Linked DNA regions of Homo sapiens: regions 2, 3, 4 and 5 are each linked to region 1. The links are contacts of gene promoters, found by promoter capture Hi-C in blood cells and fetal thymus (Javierre and others, 2016). All regions are on one chromosome and are shown on one strand. Each heading gives the region's core, a stretch centred on a gene start or on the middle of the fragment in contact. The rest is flanking DNA. Distances are from core to core; before and after follow the strand shown.

The links. The method cuts DNA at HindIII sites, captures the fragments that hold promoters and counts their contacts. A CHiCAGO score of 5 or more calls a contact.
Region 2: a contact is called between a fragment that was not itself captured here and the fragment with the promoter of KCTD9 in region 1, in 1 of 17 cell types (naive CD8 T cells). The highest score is 5.8, in naive CD8 T cells.
Region 3: a fragment that was not itself captured here is called in contact with the fragment with the promoter of KCTD9 in region 1 in 1 of 17 cell types (neutrophils); the score reaches 7.6 in neutrophils.
Region 4: a fragment that was not itself captured here is called in contact with the fragment with the promoter of KCTD9 in region 1 in 2 of 17 cell types (neutrophils and total CD4 T cells); the score reaches 6.3 in neutrophils.
Region 5: the fragment with the promoter of GTF2E2 here is called in contact with the fragment with the promoter of KCTD9 in region 1 in 2 of 17 cell types (monocytes and total B cells); the score reaches 6.5 in monocytes.

The regions. Positions count from the first base shown.
Region 1 is chr8:25,457,113-25,459,812 of GRCh38, reverse strand. KCTD9 (potassium channel tetramerization domain containing 9) reads left to right here and starts at 1,380. Exons shown (of 12, transcript NM_017634.4): 1 at 1,380-1,614. The coding sequence starts at 1,567. CDCA2 (cell division cycle associated 2) reads right to left here and starts at 580. Exons shown (of 15, transcript NM_152562.4): 1 at 340-580. RefSeq lists enhancers at 682-911, 2,282-2,331 and silencers at 1,052-1,261, 1,622-1,671. The HindIII fragment of the contact is 4,823 bases long and covers 1-2,700 here.
Region 2 is chr8:30,635,992-30,638,691 of GRCh38, reverse strand. The region is part of intron 2 of GTF2E2 (general transcription factor IIE subunit 2); the gene reads left to right. It overlaps SMIM18 (small integral membrane protein 18), which reads right to left and starts at 112. Exons shown (of 3, transcript NM_001206847.2): 1 at 53-112. The HindIII fragment of the contact is 165 bases long and covers 1,290-1,454 here.
Region 3 is chr8:30,714,425-30,717,124 of GRCh38, reverse strand. The region is part of intron 1 of GSR (glutathione-disulfide reductase); the gene reads left to right. Among named protein-coding and RNA genes, the nearest start is that of GSR, 12 kb to the left of the region's middle. The HindIII fragment of the contact is 3,607 bases long and covers 1-2,700 here.
Region 4 is chr8:20,191,528-20,194,227 of GRCh38, reverse strand. No RefSeq gene overlaps it. Among named protein-coding and RNA genes, the nearest start is that of ATP6V1B2, 4.5 kb to the left of the region's middle. The HindIII fragment of the contact is 1,768 bases long and covers 476-2,243 here.
Region 5 is chr8:30,656,932-30,659,631 of GRCh38, reverse strand. It overlaps GTF2E2 (general transcription factor IIE subunit 2), which reads left to right and starts at 1,396. Exons shown (of 8, transcript NM_002095.6): 1 at 1,396-1,659. RefSeq lists enhancers at 853-1,524, 2,196-2,700 and silencers at 1,302-1,711, 1,722-1,811. The HindIII fragment of the contact is 11,766 bases long and covers 1-2,520 here.

The sequences.
Region 1 (2,700 bases), core at 131-2,630:
CCCACCCTGTGCTAACCATTCTTTTACTCTAAGCGCGTACTTTTAAAGCCAAATTAAACAGAAAGAAATGGAGAAAACTGCTGTTCAGGCACCAAAGCAGACCCCAAAGGATAAGCCATGGCTTTTCAACCGTAGCGAAAACCTGAATCATAAGGGTACCCCTCTCAAGACGCAGCTCTATCCATTTCCAGAAATTCTCTCAACAGGTCCGGATGCACTCCTGGTCACCCAGAGCAGCTCCTGACAGGAGTACTAATTCTGTGCTGCAGGGTAAGCCGAACAAAGTGCCTAGAAATGCCCCGGAGAAACAGCCCCGTGGCAGCGCGGATGCAATCCTACCTCTCACGCCGCACCTGAAGGCCCGCCAGGCAGACAGGCTTACTCCCAGAGCCCCGTGGCAGGCGAGCGTCGCGTCGGCCGCTCCTTCCAGACCCCGGCTCCTCTGTCCGGAAGGGCTCTCCTGGCAAAGCACCCGCAGCCGGGAGCCGCTCTTCGAACCCGGAGCCCGAGGTCCCGACGGCTGACCTGGACTCACAGCCTGCGCTGATCCTGGCCTGCGCTCTGCCCGGCAGCCTCCTCCACCCGCCTCCTCCGCCCGCCGACCGATTCAAATCCCCGACCCCGCCCCTCGGTACCGAATTTACTCTACGAATCACTCCGCCACCTCCCCCTTCTCCAGTCCGCGCACACTCCGAGCGCTCCCAGGCCTCTCCCTCGGCACTGGAGTGGCTTCCTGGGCTCGGAGAGGGACCACCGCGAGCTGCAGTCAACCCGAGGACTACAGACACCTGCCACTGCCTTGTGACCTCGGGGACTACTTTTCAGGAGAGTCTCGCGGAGTAACGCTTCTCTTAGCGCTTTAACTCCGCCTCCCACCTTTCTATTGGATGCTGCAAACTTCGAAAAGACTCATTCAACCAATCCTAACAGAGCGACGAGCTGGCTCTTACCCAATCAGTCCGTCCCTACCGCAGCCGTTTCCTAGCTGGGCCGGCTTGTGGGCGGGGCTAACGCTGGAGGAGGGGCTGACTGGTGCTTGGGTCCCTTTCAGCGCTCCACCTCCTTTCCCCAGACCCCGCCCTCGTATGCAGATAAGCGCTACCTAAACTAGAGGGTGCGCCTGCTCAGTAACGCTGGAAGCCGCCGTCCGGCTCCAGGAGCCTCTCTGATTGGCTGATGCCCCTTCCCGTCTACTAGCCTTCAGCGTCTCTTCCCTCCCTCCGTCCCGGCTAGGTTAGCCAGAGCCCGCCCGATACTGGGTGCTGATTGGCTGGACTCTGTCCGGTGACGCGGGTTGGTTGGTACGGCAGAGTGTCAGTCTCGGAGAGGTGGGGGAAGGGCCCCAGGCAGGCTGAGGAGCCTAGGGGCGGGGTGGGAAGGAGGACCGGCCGAACCTTGGGTGTGGGACAGAGTGCGTGCGTGTGGTGTGTCCCCAAGGGCAGGAAGGTGGCGAAGGGAGGCGAATCCGAGTGGGTGGAGGGAGGGGAAGGGCGGGAGGAGAAAAAGGTGGGAGGAGGACCAGGTGGGAGGGTGGCGGCTCACTCAGGACCCAGCGGGGGCAGCGCGATGAGGCGGGTGACCCTGTTCCTGAACGGCAGCCCCAAGAACGGAAAGGTAACGGGGGCGTGAGGGGGCGCGGCGGGCCGGGGGTCGGGGCGAGGGCGGACGGTGCGGAACCGGCTGGCGGGGCAGCGGTGAAGTTGGGTAGAGGGGCTGGGAGGTGGGCGTGCGCGGGCTGGGGGCGCTCGGGGACAGCACAGGGTCCCCGCGGCCTCCTCCCGACCCTCAGGACCCCCGTGCCCGAGCCTGCCCTTCAGTGCCTCAGCTGCCTGGGGGCCGGCGCGGTTCGGCCCGGGGGCTCCGGGTCTCCCGGATGCTTGGTGCGGGGGGCGCGGGGACGGGGGCGCGGGGAGGGCCGCGGTCACCTGGGCGCCCGGGCGGTCGCGCCTCTTCCCGCCTCTCCCCGAGACCCCGCTCCCGCCTGCGGGAGGAGGCGCGCCGGCTCCGGTGCTGAGTAATGATCTGCTCGGAAAGTGGCGGCGAGCACCAGAGCCTGTGGAGATGGGTCAGGGAGACAGAAGTAAACTGCCCGTGGATAAACAAAATCTCCCATCCGAGGTCGCAGACAGGATTTTTAAAATGGGGGCATTTTCTTGTTGATTTTTGCCCTCCTCTCTGAGATGCCTCAAGCCCCCACGCCCCGCCGCCGCCAAACTTCTCTGTACTCTTTTTATTATTTTGCCTTATTTTGATTCCCTAGAGGACGGGTACAGCAGACCCAAAAGGGATCGATTTGACAGTCGCCTTTGCTGTGTTAGGCCTTTGCGGAGAGTGTGGTGCTCAGTGTTCTTCCAGCGCTGGAGCAAGCCAAAACGAATTCTCTTCCTTCCCAGCCTTTTGCCCCACCCATGAAAGTTGTTCTGCTCCTTTGGGAAATTTTCACTGTTCGAGGCAGACATTTATTGCGTTGCTAAATGATACCTAGAAGTAACTCAGCCTTTACGAGTCTAAGGTAAAGGTAAATGGGTCTCGCTGTGTTGGTTGCCAAAATACTCTGCTGCCTGCACATTCGGGGAACACTGTAAATTTTTAAATAGTGAAATTGTCCAGTGGCATTAAAAATGGCTTTCCGATTATTCAGTGTAGAGTAAACATGCTCCGAAAATTCGAACCAGAGTGTGGTTTGTTGGCTATAATTTT
Region 2 (2,700 bases), core at 123-2,622, 5.2 Mb before region 1:
ATTGCATCATAAGGACATGTACCACTAAATAAAAAAGATCATATAAACCTACCTCTTGTCTGAGAGGATGCTGCTGAAGCGATGGTATCGTCTGTTTGTAATGCAGTCTAGTGCACAGCCAAGATGGAGCTGTGCTTCTATTGGTTGAACCACAATGGAGCTGACAGTTTCCTCTATGTTCATTTGCATTAAGTCTTGCCACCCTTAAGAGTAAATCATTCATAAACTTGAATAGAGCTGTCTGGGGTATCAACTGTCATCCCTTCTCCTTTATTTTTTTGTTCTTAAGCTAAATTCCTATATAGGAATTTGTGAGTTACTAACAAATTGATGATTCTTTAGTGTTTCATTATAAAATTTCAGATCCTTCAGTGAATACTTCAGTGCTAGGGCTGGAAGATAATGTCGGGAAAGGTAGTAACCTAGGAAACAAACAGTCCAGGTTTGCCAGCCTGATATTTCCTTCAGGAAGTGTGCATAAAATCTTATAAATTTTTCTTGTTCTTCCTTTTCTTTCATTACTTGTTCCGTATATAATTTTTGCACTCTGGAAGTGATTATTTCCATGTGGTGGTTTGATTTAGGAGGAATTATGAAGGAAAATAATTGGCTTTTAGCTCTGCAAGTTGGAAGAGGGCTCATTTAGGTAAATACACTACCTGCATTCAAAAAATAGTCTCTAAAATGTAAATGGCAAAGTGATCTCCAGGTTGGCTCTTTAGAGACAGAGTATTTTTAGTTACTGTGTATTATTTAGAGTTATGGTCTAAGCACAACAGAATGAAGGTTTTTAATTATGGGAGTGGCTGTTAACAACAGCAGCAGACCAGGTACATGCTATGTAGACTTCTTTTTTAAAATTATAGATGAAGGCTGGGAGCGGTGGCCCATGCCTGTAATCCCAGCACTTTGAGAGGCTGAGTTGGGTGGATCACAGGGTCAGGAGTTCAAGACCAGCCTGGCCAAGATGGTGAAACCCCATCTCTACTAAAGTACAAAAATTAGCCAGGCACGGTGGCAGTCTCCTGTAATCCCAGCTATTCAGGAGGTTGAGGCAGGAGAATTGCTTGAACCCGAATGGCAGAGGTTGCAGTGAGTTGAGATCACACCACTGCTCTCCAGCCTGGGCGACAGAGTGAGACTCCATCTCAAATAAAATAAAATAAAATAAATAAAATAAAATTATAGATGAATTGGTACATTAGTTTCTGGGGCCATAAAGGAATGCATAGAAATATCTGTATTATAGTCATTCATTCAACAAATATTTATTGAGTGTTTACTAAGCTTGACATTGAGTTAGTAGTAGATGCCAGAGACATAAGCATCATGTCTCATAAGCACAACTGTTTGTGATTCATAATTGGCCATTTGTGTGGTGTTTGTCCTTAACACATTGTCATCTCTTTTTTCATAGTCTTCCCAGTTGTTTATACAGTTGCGTGGGGTAAGCTTAATATTATTTTACTTAAACAAGCATTAAATGTGCAGTCACAGATTTCTGTACTTTGACAAAATGGCCAGTTTCAGATGGAATAATCTGTGTAAAGGCTGTTTATTACAGGGTTTACACTGGATTTGAATCTATACTCTGCTGCTTACTACCCTCAATTTTATTATATTTAAAAGGGGACAGTAATACTTCTTAAGTTGGATTTTTTGGGAGGGATTACGTATGAATATTTACCATAGTGTTTAGCAGATAATAAATATTGGTTACTTTTATTACAGATGTGCTGAACACCTTGGGAGAATGAACTACGTAGGTAATATTTCATAATTGAAACAGTGAATGGAAAAGCACCTATAAGGCATTCTTTTTTTTTTTTTTTTTAATTTTGAGACGGAGTCTCACTCTGTTGCCAGGCTGGAGTGCAGTGGCACTATCTCGGCTCACTGCAACCTCCAACTCTCTCGTTCAAGTGATTCTCCCAAGTAGCTGAGACTACAGGCACGTGCCATTATGCCCAGCTAATTTTTGTATTTTTGGTAGAGACGGGGTTTCACCATGTTGGCCAGGATGGTCTCGATTTCCTGACCTCATGATCTGCCCACCTGGGCTTCCCAACTGTAAGGCATTCTTAATGTTATTGTTACTTTTGGAAACATGGTAGACTTCAGTGTGCCAATTAATTAAGATTGTAACAAAGTTAGTTTTAAAGGAAAATTGCATATGAAGTTTCATTTTAGTCTCAAAAAAGGATACTCAATAAAGACTTCACTAATCTCAAAGGAGTATGGTATTGCCATCTAGAAGCTGTTCTTTTGGATCTCTGACAGTTGTTACATTTGACTTGTGGTTGTTCTAATGCAATCTTTTGTTTAAATTATTATTACCAACCTGGTGCCAGAGATTGGTTCTCCTCTCCCCTTTTACTTAACCTCTCTCTTTGTGGATCAGCCACATGGGAACTTTATAATATCTGATCTCATGCCTTGCTAATAGAATGTGTACTTCTAAAATGTTTTTCTAGTATTTATGATGGATTTTTTACTGTTCCTGGTTATGACTAATGGAATGCATTTGTGATGCAGTGGTGACATTAGGGTTTCTGCTTGTAAGAATGCAACAAAATGATAGATATTTTGAAACAAATGATCTTTTGTACAGGGTTTTCCACACCAGATAGAGAAGGAGAGGGGGGTGTTTCTCAAAGTGGGTGGGTAGTGCTGTGATGCTTTTTAAAGTAAGCATCCATG
Region 3 (2,700 bases), core at 198-2,697, 5.3 Mb before region 1:
GCTGGGATTACAGGCATGTGCTACCACGCCCAGCTAATTTTGCATTTTTAGTAGAAACAGGGTTTCTCCATGTTGGTCAGGCTGGTCTTGAACTACCGACCTCAGGTGATCTGCCCGCCTCGGCCTCCCGAAGTGCTGGGATTACAGGCATAAGCCACCATGCCCAGCCTCCGTCTCTAATTTGTAAGAAATTGAAAAAAAAAAAATTTGGGGGGAAAGAGAAGGGAGCAGCAGAGGGGATGGGTGAGCGAGAGCATGCCAGCTTTTCACCCCTGGCCTCCCCAGCTCTCACTGGAACTAAGTGTATGTGTATTTTTTGAGATAGGGTCTCATTCTGTTGCCCAAGCTGGAGTGCAGTGGTGCTATCTCGGCTCACTGTAGCCTTGACCTCCCAAGCTCAAGTGATTCTCCTGCCTCAGCCTCCCCAGTAGCTGGGACTACAGGCTTCACTATCACACCTGGCTAATTTTTGTATTTTTTCTAGAGACAGTGTTTCACCTTGTTGCCCAGGCTCATCTTGAACTCCTGGCCTCAAGCGATCCACCTGCCTTGGCCTCCCAAAGTGCTGGGATTATAGGCATGAGCCGCCACTCCCAGCCTAAATGTGCTTTTCGTTCCTTCCAAGTCAGAGGCGCTGAAGTCATGTCATGTTGCTGGCATGTAAATAGGCCTCTAAAAGCAGTGGAAATCCCTGGAGGCCTGTTCACAGGAGCTGGCAAAATAGGACAGTGGTATTTCAGGGTCATAGGCTTCCTTTCAACCAGTGCCCCAGGCCCCAAAGTGTGTTGTGCTGGGGCGCAGCTTCTCTGGCCCAACAAGGCCACAATTTTCCACCATCCTCTTCCTCTGGTTTCTGGCCCAGTGCTCTTCAATTTTAGGGAATGTGGAGATTCTGCTGCTGCCCCTTGAGTCAGTATCTTGGACAGGCTCAGAGCCTCTCTCTGGCTGGCACTGTAGGCCAAGATACTGATACAGTCCCCAAGAGCAGGGACTGTATCTGTTTAGTGCCTTACCTTGCATAATGCCTGGCACAAGTGAGTGCTTACTCAGTACCTCTGAATGAATGCCTGCAAGCTAAGACGACGTAGAAGCAAAAAAGGCAGAAACTTCTAAAAAAACAAACCAGAGTTATAGACACCAGGCACCAGTGAAAGCCCACCTTGGCGCTTAGAAGAAACATATTCCAAAAAAAGAATATGTTTTAAAATTAAACATATTTTTTAAAAACTTTTTTAAAAAACATATTTTTAAAATTAGAAAAAGAAGCCTTAAATAACTTTAAAGTAGCTTCAAATATACATGAGGAACAAACTGATGGTATGTGAGAGTAGTTTAGAACATTGAGTGCTTTATGACACCCTTGGATTGCTTTTGATGATTCTTGGGAAGCCAGAAATGGTGACTGGAAGACCAGCAGTATTTATGTAGCAGACAAATCATCTCTACCTTTGGGAAAATTGCTTTTGGAGTCTGTCCTAGTTGAAGCCACTTAGTGAACTTAAATGGTGAACTGCAGGGTATAAAGGTGTGGGTGGAAGGCACGGGGAAGCACGTTGCCTGCCAAATAACTGGAAAAGGCAGGTTGGATGAGAAAATCATTCCCATTATGGGGCTAGCATTGTTCTTCCCACAGAGTTTCGACCTCCTTTCTCTGCTCTTACCATTAGGAAACCCCTGCTGTGCGTCCTCCTTTCTTAGAAATGGCTTATTCTATTTATCCCAGTAATGTTGTCAGGTACTTGGGGGTTGAGAAGTAGCATATCCTCAGCTTGGCCAGATGAAAGGGCACTCTAGATAGAAAGCCATACGTTTATTATTATTATTTATTTTTAGAGGTAGGGTCTGGCTCTGTTACCTAGGCTGGAGTGCAGTGGTATGATCAGAGCTTATTGTAGCCTTCAACTCCTGGGCTCAAGAGATCCTTCCGCCTCAGCCTCCTGAATAGCTGGAACTACGGGCATGCACCACCAAACCCAACTAATTTTTTATTTTTTATTTTTTTACAGAGATGGGGTCTCAGGGTCTCACTGTGTTGCCCAGGCTGGTCCCTAACTCCTGGGCTCAAGCAATCATCTTTCTTTTCGGCCTCCCAAAGCGTGGGGATTACAGGCGTGAGCCACCACACCCAGCCCATAAATTATTCTAATTTTTAGTATGAAGTACTTGTGATACTCTGCCATGAAGGATGCAGTGCTGGCAGGAATAGTGGAATAATTGCTGCTTGTAAACATTTAAGATTCTCCTGTGGATTTTGGTGAGTGATCATTAAACTGTTTTCCAAAAGCATATACAGGCCAAGCGTGGTGGCTCATGCCTATAATCTCAGCACTTTGGGAGGCTGAGGCAGGAGAATCACTTGATCTCAGGAGTTCAAGACCAGCCTGGGCAATATACTGAGACCTTGTCTCTATTTTTATAAAGTATTTTTAATTTTTATTTAAAAAATAAAATAAAAAGCATATACAGGCCACGTATGGTAGCTCACACCTGTAATCTCAACACTTTGGGAGGCCGAGTTAGGAGGATTGCTTGAGCCCAGGAGTTTGAGACCAGCCTGGGCAACATAGTGAGACCCTGTCTCTATATTTTTAGAAAAATATTTTTTATTTTTTTTTAAAAAGTATATCCAGGCGTGATGGCTCACGCCTGTAATCCCAGCACTTTGGGATGCCAAGGCGGGTGGATCACTTGAGCTCAGGA
Region 4 (2,700 bases), core at 110-2,609, 5.3 Mb after region 1:
ATTTAGGAAAATATAGAAAAGTTTTAGTTTCTCTAGTAATGAAGAAATTCAAACTAAGCATCACCGTTCCACCTTATCTGTTAAATTAAGAAAACTGAATGATTTTTTTTAAGTGTTGGCAGGATTCGGGGCTAAGTGTCGCACCAGCTCATTTCTGATGACTTTGGAAATTGGCCAGACCTTCTGCAAAGCAACCTGGTATAGGTTAGGGATCATAAACTTGTTCACGCACTTTGATCCAATAATTTGATTCCATGATCTCAATGATATGATTATTAACCAAAGGAATAAATGTTTATAGCTTGTTATGGCAATGCTATTCATCAGAGTGAAAGTGAAATAGTAACCTAAATATCCCATAATAGTAAACTGCACCAGTAGTGTATATTTAATAGATACTGACATGAATATGATATATAGCTGGTGGAATTCAAGTATTTGAACTCTTTATACCAAATAATATTGAGTGAAAGCTTAGCACAGATATAGACCAGTTGCAGTAGTGTAGAACATGTTTGTACATTGGTAAAAAGCAGGAAATTGTGCATTGATGCCAATAATTGATGCTGCAATTTGGAGAGAAAAATCTTTTTCTCTTCTGAAATGTGTATTAAATATCCAAAAGTCACATATACTCACACAGAGAGAGTATCAGCTGGAGGTGGGGGGGCTTGCACAGTTTTAAGGGTAAGAGGTGCTAAAACAAACTAAATATGGCCCGAGAAGGACTCTGTACTTCTATATTTGAGTCCTTGTGGATGAACTGCAACCTAACTTAATAGGTAGACAAAATTGAAAACCTAACTAGGAGTTTGCGCCTGTAACAGTAGCTGAGTCTTGGCCCATCCCAGCAGTGGTACTTCAGCTACTCATACACTGCTGAGTGTTCAAACTGTGTTCAAATAAGGCAAACACTGAGCTGTAACCAATCTAGCTCTATCTGTGCTTCACTTCTGATTTCTGTAGGTCACTTCCCTTTTTTATCTATAAATTTGTTCTGACCACGAGGCATCCCTGGAGTCTCTCTGAATCTGCTGTGATTCTGGGGGCTGCCTGATTCACAAATCATTCACTGCTCAATTAAACACCTTTAAATTTAATTCAGCTGAAGTTTTTCTTCTATCAGGGGCTTGGGGCATGGACTCTGAGGTCAGACAGACTTAGTTTAAGTCCTGAGTTGATTAGTTCTATGACTTTGAACAAAATTTATTCTCTCTAATCCTCACTTTTCTAGTTTATAAAATGAGAATAATATTATCTTCATAAAATTATTGTATTAAAAGAGATAATGCAAAGTATTTGGCAAATAGCAAAGGCTAGATATGGCTTAGCTAACATTATTATTACATGCTTTGATTTATTGATTAACAGAATATTTATGTGTTAATTAATATGTGTCAGGCTCTTCTTTTTTTTTTTTTTTTTTTTAGACGTATTCTTGCTCTTGTCAGCCAGGGTGGAGTACAATGGCATGATCTCGGCTCACTGCCATCTGCGCCTCCTGGGTTCAAGCGATTTTCCTGCCTCAGCCTGCCGAGTAACTGGGATTACAGGTGCCTGCCACCACCCAGCTAATTTTTGTATTTTTAGTAGAGACGGGGTTTCACCATGTTGGCCAGGCTGGTCTTGAACTCCTGACCTCGCGATCCGCTCACCTCAGCCTCCCAAAGTGCTGGAATTACAGGTGTGAGCCACCATGCCTGGCTGTGTCAGGCTCTTTTCTAAGAAAGAAATGATATGGCTCCTGGACTAGTTGAGTAGTTTGTATTAAGCAGCGACTGTATCTTATCATTTTCTTGTCTTCTATCTAAAGTACCTAGCAAGGTAACTTACACATAGTACTTAGTAAATATCTATTAGATAAATGAAAATGTGTTGCTTTTTTCTTAAAAATGAACAGTTGTCCACCAATCTTATTCTTCCATACGGAGGGTTCCCCGCCCCCCGCCAAGGAAGAGTCATCCTACAGATATTGTATACTGGCTATTGTCCTCCTGTTATTTGCTGAAACCATATCCTTGTTTTACTTCCAAGGAATGCAAAAATCCCAGGAATTCCCCAGCAGTAGGGAATGTGGTCAAAACATGAGACTCAGAATCACCAGCCCAGTTTCAGTGCTGACTGTCTCCTTATGCACAGTGTAACCTTGGGCCAATCCTCAACTCCTTCTGTCTTTGAATCTCCATCTGTGAGTTGGGAAGATTTCATGTCATGCCGGCTTCTCAAGAATTTAAAAAGAAGCTTCCAGAAATCAACATCTTAGATAGAAAGGCAAACTCTTATTCTTTTATTACAAATGATTATTGGGGAAGAAAAATAGAGAAGAAAGGGGTAAGAAAATCTCATGCCAGTGACTGATTTTTTTCCAGATAATGTGTATCTCTCTTTATTTGCTGGAAAATTCTAATCAAGGAAAATACTATGAAGACAAACCACAACAGATTAAATAAACAGACCTATGTGTTTCTATGTAGCAAGGCATATACCAATATAAAATCATCAGTACAACATTTTCAGCATAAGATGGGAGAGGAAGCTAATTAATTATTTATATATTTTATTATTGGTTTTTTTTGCTTTTGTTTTTGTTTTTTTTGTTTGTTTTTTTCAGTCAGAGTCTTGCTCTGTCGCCCAGGCTGGAGTGCAGTGGCATGATCTCAGCTCACTGCAACCTCCACCTCCCGGGTTCAAGCGATTGTC
Region 5 (2,700 bases), core at 147-2,646, 5.2 Mb before region 1:
ATCTATCTATCTATCTATCTATCTATCTATCTATCTATCTATCTATATACACACTGAATTCCCTGCCCCTTTTTCCCCTAACACCTCATCAGTTTCCTACCAATTGATGTTTGATTTCATCCTTTTGTAAATCTTCTGGGCCCTAATCAATTGTTATTCAAACAAAGTTACATTTCCTGTGGGTGTCAGATGATCAAGTAGGCTTATTACAAAATTCTCTAGAATGAAACTAATAAAAGTCACAAAATATTATCTTTTGACTTTTTTCCAAGTTTTGAATAAAATTTTAGGTATTTTCTCACTTAATTTTCACCACAGTCCAATGCAAGTAACTCATTGTAGTAGTACAATGATTATCCCCATTTCCCCGATGAGAAAACTGAGCCACAGTTTCAGTAACTTGAAGAGTAACCAGTAATTCAACGACAGCCACAGAATGGCTGAGCACTGGCTGTACTGCCGCTTTAGGTTATAAGAGTGAGGGAAGGCCTGCCACGCTGCAGGTTTCGGGCAATGAAATTATTTTTTCCACTGCTTTATTTCCACCCATTTATCTGGCTTCTAAATCCAAAATCCTTTTCTAAGACAGTTCACAGGGGTGGAGGGAAGAGGCTGGGCTGTGCTCCACATCAGGCTGCCTTTGCTAGCTGTGTTGTCTTGAGCAAGTCATTTATTAATTAGCTTCCTGGCCCTCTGTTCTTCGCTTGTAAAAGAGCTGGAACCGCGTTCTCGGTGTGCAGGTGCTGGTGTGTGGCGCTGGGGTAAACTCACAAAATAACCGTTGAGGCCGGGCGCGGTGGCTCACGCCTGTAATCCCAGCACTTTGGGAAGACGAGGCGGGCAAATCGCTTGAATTCAGGAGTTCGAGACCAGCCTGGGCAACATTGTGAGACCCTATTAATACAAACAACAACAACAATAATAACCAAAAATAGTCCGTCGTGGTGGCACTCGCCTGTGATCCCAGCTACTCCGGAGGCTGAGGTGGGAGAATGGCTTGAGCCCAGGAGCGGAGGTTGCAGTGAGCCGAGATCGCGCCACTGCCCTCCAGCCTGGGTGACCGAGTGAGATCACGTCTCTAATAAGAAAAAGACAAAAAACACAAAGTAACCATTGAAAGATAGCGTCGTCGGCTGGGTTCACCACATCCCAGCGCACGCCGGAGCAGGCTGTAGCAGTTTTAATAAAGTGTCTATAAAGAAAGCTGCCTTCCATCTTCAGTGGCGCCGCCTCCCACTTCAGTCCCCTTCTCGGCCCCACCCCAGCCCTTCCCTCGTTGTCATGGAGGCCCCAGGACGCCAGAGCGGGATAGTTCCGCTCCCGCGGCACCAGAGGCGGGGCACGCAATGACGCATGCGCTCGCTTGGCTGCCCTGGCGCCGCGGTGGCTGCCGGGACTGAGCTCCTAGCACCCGATCGGGAAGTGGCGGGCGGAGTCCCGGGTCCAGTCGCCGCCTCAGCTACCGCCGCTGCCGCCGCCGCCGCCGCCACCGCCAGTGGTGAGACCCCGACCTGGCGGGTCAGCGCTGGGCGTGCGTGCGGGCAGGCGGGGGCGCTGACGAGAAGCAGGAAGAGGGTGCAGTGCCGGCGTGGGCGGCCGGCCGAGGCGGAGGCGCAGGAAGGGGGCGGCGAGTCGTGCGAGGCTGCCCTTCTCACTCAGGTAGGGGCTGCGGCCGCCGGGTGTGGGGCGCAGAGCCCCGGCTTGCTGTTCCCTGGGACGCAGGCGCGCCGCCGCCTCCCGGGAGGCTGAGCGTGACCTCCACCTCACGGGAAGCTGGGACCGCCGTTCTCGAAGCGAAACACCCAGCACGCGAACCGTTCCCCGGAGCATTGTCTTTAGGCCAGAGGTTCATTGAGCAAACTTTTGGGTTGGAAAGAGGGAAAATTCGCGGTCTGCCGCCTGACTGTGCCTCTTCCAAGCCTCCAAGTTCACGGGCGCGGTAGCCAAGCGAACCGTGTGTGGAGTTTGAGCAGCCGCGGGGTCCAGCCAGCTCAAGACTGTGATTTAAAATGATGCTCATACGCGGACTGCTTTCTAGGCTACCTTTTGGAGATTTGGTTTGTGATGATCCCTAAACTTTAACGATAGTAGTTGATTTCTGCAGTCTAAACAACGCTGCGGCCCCCTTTTCGCCCACCTCCCCACTTCCGTCATTTAAGGGCGAAGCAGCCTGCTTTTCATAGCCGGGTCCTGAGGTGCCAGGGACACTAACGAGGCTGGGTAAAAGTGAAAGAGAGGGGAAGTAGTAAGGTTGAAAGAGGTCGAATGGTGGCAAGAATCGTGGGCTTGGAGGCAGATTTCAGTTTAATTTTTGGGTTTTCCGTGTCTGCCCACGGAGGAACCAGCCAACTCCTTGAGTTGTGGTTTTGTTTAATTGTAAAATGGACATGGTGATGTAGCCTGTTTACTCCATAGGGGGGTCCAGAGATCTAAAACTTAGTACACATATTGGGTAGTCTTTGAAAAAGGAGGAAAAGTTAGGCGGAGCACGTGATGGTGAAAGACAGACATTGCGAAGCTTTCTGCTCTAGATGCCTTTGAACGTTCCCGAACCTCACAGGTGGCCTTTGTTTTAAAGGCCTTTACCAGCGTTCCAGGTCTGGTGTAAGGAGCACTTGAGTTAGGAGTCAGGAGGTTTGGTTCCTGGCCCTGGCTCTTCCATCTGTGCGACCTTAACCAGACAGCTTCACTTCAGATTTC